2 separate regions of the Homo sapiens genome follow, and region 1 is linked to region 2. Evidence: promoter capture Hi-C in human tissues and cell types (Jung and others, 2019). All regions are on one chromosome and are shown on one strand. Each heading gives the region's core, a stretch centred on a gene start or on the middle of the fragment in contact. The rest is flanking DNA. Distances are from core to core; before and after follow the strand shown.

The links. Contacts are between HindIII fragments. The study calls those that stand out against the background at their distance.
Region 1: a fragment that was not itself captured here is called in contact with the fragment with the promoter of PCK1 in region 2 in 1 of the 25 tissues and cell types used here (lymphoblastoid cells).

Annotation. Positions count from the first base shown.
Region 1 is chr20:59,346,713-59,349,511 of GRCh38, forward strand. No RefSeq gene overlaps it. Among named protein-coding and RNA genes, the nearest start is that of EDN3, 48 kb to the left of the region's middle. The HindIII fragment of the contact is 8,722 bases long and covers 1-2,799 here.
Region 2 is chr20:57,559,813-57,562,512 of GRCh38, forward strand. It overlaps PCK1 (phosphoenolpyruvate carboxykinase 1), which reads left to right and starts at 1,298. Exons shown (of 10, transcript NM_002591.4): 1 at 1,298-1,391; 2 at 1,560-1,823; 3 at 2,259-2,440. The coding sequence starts at 1,600. The HindIII fragment of the contact is 15,943 bases long and covers 1-2,700 here.

The DNA.
Region 1 (2,799 bases), core at 87-2,586, 1.8 Mb after region 2:
TGCACTCAAGGCTCTCTTGCCTTTGGGATAAAAGACCAATTCTCTGATAAGGCTTGTGATATTGATTTTTAAAAAGTCAAAAGAAGAATATTTTTTTGATACAAATAATGATATGAAATTCAAATTCTGGTGTCCACAAATAAAGTTTTATTGGAACACATTCATGCCTGTTCATCTGCCAATTGTCTGTGGCTGCTTTCTTGACACAATGGCAGAGTTGAGTAGTTTTAATAACCATGTGACTCACAAAGTCTAAGATACATACTACATGGCCTTTTACGGAAAGATTTCCTGTTCCCCTACCCCCGTTTAGAATTGTGCAGCCTTCCCTGCTGGTTATTAAATAACCACCACCCTGAGCTCCCAAAAGCCCACTTCTAACCCTCCCCAGGAACCTTCGGGACCTCTCCCAATCTATGGATAAAGCTTGTCTGTCTGGAGAGCTCTGGAACCCTGTGAGAGCCTACGCACGTGTTGTTCTCATTGATGGTGCCCACTTTGTATCTGTGCATTGTAGTTTGAGTCCCATCCCTGATTTTCTCACTGCTCCTTCAAAGATGCTTCCTCCCTGCCTCAGAGTCTTAGCCCATGCTGTTACTTGTGCCTGGGATGTGCTTCCCTACATCTCCACCACCATGCACCAAGTCTGCAAATTCCTTCTCATCCTCAGATCTTGTCTGAAGTATCAAGAGGGCCTCTTGTCCTCCAACATTAGGTCTGGTCCTTCATTACACACTTTGGAGGAAGGTCACTGTGCAGCCACACTTAAGAAGTAGCCGGTCATCCTCCATCTCCCCGAGGGCACAGTATCTACATAAACTATTTGGAATTCTTCTGCCTGGGAGATTTATCTCTGTTCTCGAATTTATTTACTTAGTCAATCATTTATTTAATCAGTGTGGTCTCATGGATATTTATTTTTACTTTGGGTTACAATTCAATAACATTTTATGTATTTTATTGCACAAATTGTCCCAGCTTTGGGCACGGGGAGCTCTTTCAGCTGGCTCCTGTGTCCCTTTGACATAGTCTCATCGTTGTTAGTGGGATCTTTATTACTTGCTTTACCATTTCCTTACTTTCTGGCACTATAAGACACCCCAAGGTCATCTTGTATCAGTCCTACAAGAAGCTACTTTCCCAAGGGTCCTTTGTTCCTTTTACTGGACAATGATATTAGAAACCAAGATCTGGGTACAGGTGGGCTCATTGCTATAGGGATGCTGTTGCTTGTAGACTATCTCAGCTGACAGAGTAAGGGGATCCGATTGTGCATATTAACCCATGTATATGCACAGATCTATAAATATTTTTATTTGGAACCACCTGTATCCATGTAAAGCTCAACGTGAGTTCACACTAATGTCTCCAACTCTAATCCATCACCACATGGATCATTTGGCCTCCACCCCTTGCTTATCTCACTCCAGTGGTGAAAAGCTGGTGTTCACCATCTTCTGTCCATTTACTTCATTATTCAGTTGCCAGGGACATGGATATTAGTAACAGAATTATTCAATGGTGCCTCTCTTGACCCTGTGGGAAGCAACCTTATCAGCTCGAGTCAAGTGCTTCTGTACAGTTCCTTTTGTCTTTAGTGTTACTGACTTCACTCATTTCCAAAGTTACTAAAGTCAGTACCTTTCCTTTTCTGTGGGGTTGTCTCAAACATTTGCAATGCATTTAGATTGTTTGGTCACATTGTGCCCTTCCTTTTGGGATGAGGGATTCTTTTCATGAGTTAAGCACTGGGGCTCTGGCTTTCTAGAGAAGGGGCATGGAAAGTCTGTGTGGGGTACTTAGCAGAGGAGAGAAGGAGGATGACAGCACCCTTGATGGTGACACTACCTCACTAGCCCCCTGGCCTGGATTTAAAGTTTGGATGGTGAGAGGTTTTAAGGCCACAAACAAAGGACATTGATTTCCACAGGGATTTTGCAAGACTCTGGGCTCAAGCAGCCCCATTTTTGTGCCCAGGTGATAAATTATGACCACAAGTTGGGGAGAGGAATCCATCCTAACTCTTGGTTTTCTAGGGTTTGTGGAACTGGGGTTACTGGAAGGCAGCTCCTTTGGCAGATGCATCTATCACCCTGGCCAACATCGAGAGTCCCTTGGGCAGCTCCTGGAGAGGGAAGACACTGAGATGCACAAGAGGTGGCAGAGACAGAAGGGCCGATCAGGGAGGGTCCTTTGAGAGGACTGAAGCTGGCAGGCTCCAGGGTCATCCAGACATACTTGGGGCCTCTGTAAGGGGCTAGATTGGGTCCTGGGTAGGTACTGAGGTTCATAACCAGCATCACGTCTCAACACAAATGTTCATCTGCCCCCATGGGTGTCTACTATAGGTTGATGAGGCACAGGAGAGTGGAGGGGGTTTGGACCAGAGCTGTTCTTATTCCTGCTCTGCTGCCTGCTAGCCCTGTGGCCTTGAGCCAAGCATGTAACTCCTTCAAGCATTAATTTGCTCATCTTTAAAGTACGGAGAAATAATAATCATAGTACCTGCCTTAAAGAGTTGTGGTGAGGATCAATAAATTAATTCATTTCATTAGAACAGTGATTGGCACATAGTAAGGGCCCTGCGGAATGACAAAAATAGTGATATTGATGATGATAATGATAATAGTGATGGATGATGATTATGGTGATAATTGGTGATGATGAAGATGATATTGATGGTGATAATGATAATGATGGGTGATGATTATGGTGGTGATTGGTGATGATGATTATGACAATGATAATGGTGATGATTGATGTTGATAATGAAGATGATGATAATGGTGATTAATGATA
Region 2 (2,700 bases), core at 48-2,547:
ATTTGCCACAGCAGCTCTTTCTAAGCCCAGTCCTGGGATTATCTCAGGGATCATCCCACACCCCAGCGGGGAGATGGGCCAAGTCCCCACCTGACCTCATCTTAGGTAGAGAGGCTTCCATGGAAGTGTGGGCTGGCTGTGGGGGGTTGAGACCTAGCCCCGTTCTTTTGACATTTCACCCTGTGTTCTCCAAACTCCAGCAAGCAGCTTCCATAGCTCATTAAATTTGACTGAAGGTCTGATGGCTTGCAAAGCAAATTCTTTACAACTGTTATAAAGGTTTCATTGCTTAAGCATATAATCTAGCAAAACTGCCAAGCCCCCTCCACTCCCTAAACTCTAAGACTTGCCAGGGAAGAGAACAGTGGCCAGTGGACTGCAGGAGTAACTGCACTCAGCCCAGAACTCCCTGGAGGACACAGGGAAGGTTCTGGAAAGGTGGCGGTACCTCACAGGGAGAGACGTGGTGCTCCAGGGCCCAACTTGCTCATGTTCAGATCCTCACTCTGCAACCCACCAGCCGGCTGTGAGTGGCTACACAATCTCTGCCTCAGTTTCCCTATCTGTACATGGGTTGTTCATAGCCTCCACCTCAGAGGGTAGTAATGATGCCAAGCTCTTAGAACAGTGCTCAGCATGTGTGCATCCTGTGCCTACTCTATGCCAAGCACTACAGAGAGAAAAATGAACAAAATAGGGAGAAATCCCTGCCCTCATGGAGTTTACATCGGGGCAGGGGGCGGGGGCGGCACAGAGCAGACAATCAATACAGTGATTAGCCCCCAGTTAGGTTAGGCATTTCCAATCTTTGCCAATAAGCCACATATTTGCCCAAGTTAGGGTGCATCCTTCCCATGAACTTTGACTGTGACCTTTGACTATGGGGTGACATCTTATAGCTGTGGTGTTTTGCCAACCAGCAGCTCTTGGTACACAAAATGTGCTGCTAGCAGGTGCCCCGGCCAACCTTGTCCTTGACCCACCTGCCTGTTAAGAAAAGGGTGTTGTGTTTTGCAACAGCAGTAAAATGGGTCAAGGTTTAGTCAGTTGGAAGTTGTGTCAAAACTCACTATGGTTGGTTGAGGGCTCGAAGTCTCCCAGCATTCATTAACAACTATCTGTTCAATGATTATCTCCCTGGGGCGTGTTGCAGTGAGTTGGCCCAAAGCATAACTGACCCTGGCCGTGATCCAGAGACCTGCCCCCTGACGTCAGTGGCGAGCCTCCCTGGGTGCAGCTGAGGGGCAGGGCTATTCTTTTCCACAGTATTTAAAGCTGGGAGGTTCTGCCACCAAGCACGGCCTTCCCACTGGGAACACAAACTTGCTGGCGGGAAGAGCCCGGAAAGAAACCTGTGGATCTCCCTTCGAGATCATCCAAAGAGAAGAAAGGTAAGTAGAGCTTTGCATTTACATTTTGAAAAATTACAAAGATGAACTCATTTTTTTCCTGAGAGCAATAACTATTTGGCAATGCACAGCCCTGGCAAAAGGCCGTCGAATGTGTTTGAAGGTGTCTGTTGTTGTTTTTGTTCAGGACGCTTGCGTTTTCTATTTCAGGTGACCTCACATTCGTGCCCCTTAGCAGCACTCTGCAGAAATGCCTCCTCAGCTGCAAAACGGCCTGAACCTCTCGGCCAAAGTTGTCCAGGGAAGCCTGGACAGCCTACCCCAGGCAGTGAGGGAGTTTCTCGAGAATAACGCTGAGCTGTGTCAGCCTGATCACATCCACATCTGTGACGGCTCTGAGGAGGAGAATGGGCGGCTTCTGGGCCAGATGGAGGAAGAGGGCATCCTCAGGCGGCTGAAGAAGTATGACAACTGGTAAGCTCGGCCCCCGCTGCCTGTCCCAGCACCCTGCAGGCAGGGCTCCCCTGCGTCTCCTGGGAGTTGGTGGAGAAAGGTGAATGAAGGCCTTCGGGTAGTTTCAGACTCTTGAGAAGATGAATGCAATGGTCAGAACCATACAGACTTGAATTTTGTGACATTAGTGGGCCAGCCCAAGCTTTAAATGAGGTGTGTGCACAAAAGCTCTGCCAACTAGATTCCTGATTAAAAAAAAGGCAGCCCCTCTCCTACAGACCAGGTCCTAGTGGAGTAAATGTCCACCTGGCCATGTCTTAGATGGTCTGTGTGTTCACACTGATGGACTGTTGTTAGCGTGCTCAGCACTCTGCTAGGCATGGAAAGCCACGGTACTGAAGGAGATGGTTCGCTGCCCGTGGTGCTTGGCTGAAAGGAAGCCTGTGATTTTTGCAGCTGGTTGGCTCTCACTGACCCCAGGGATGTGGCCAGGATCGAAAGCAAGACGGTTATCGTCACCCAAGAGCAAAGAGACACAGTGCCCATCCCCAAAACAGGCCTCAGCCAGCTCGGTCGCTGGATGTCAGAGGAGGATTTTGAGAAAGCGTTCAATGCCAGGTTCCCAGGGTGCATGAAAGGTGAGCGGAACATTGATTTGATTGGGTAAAACAGCAGAGAGCCTTTTCTTATTTACATCTATCCTAATGGTAATTCAAACAATAATGGAAGCTCCCACCACCTCAGATGTCTTTCAGTTCCATACATGAAGTTGGCAATGTATTGAAAATGCACATCCCTCTTCTGCTTTTACAGACTGTCTTATACAAACGTGAAAACTAGTTCCATGCATATGGGTTTTAAATAGCTTGGTGGGACCCAATTGCACATTTATGAAAAC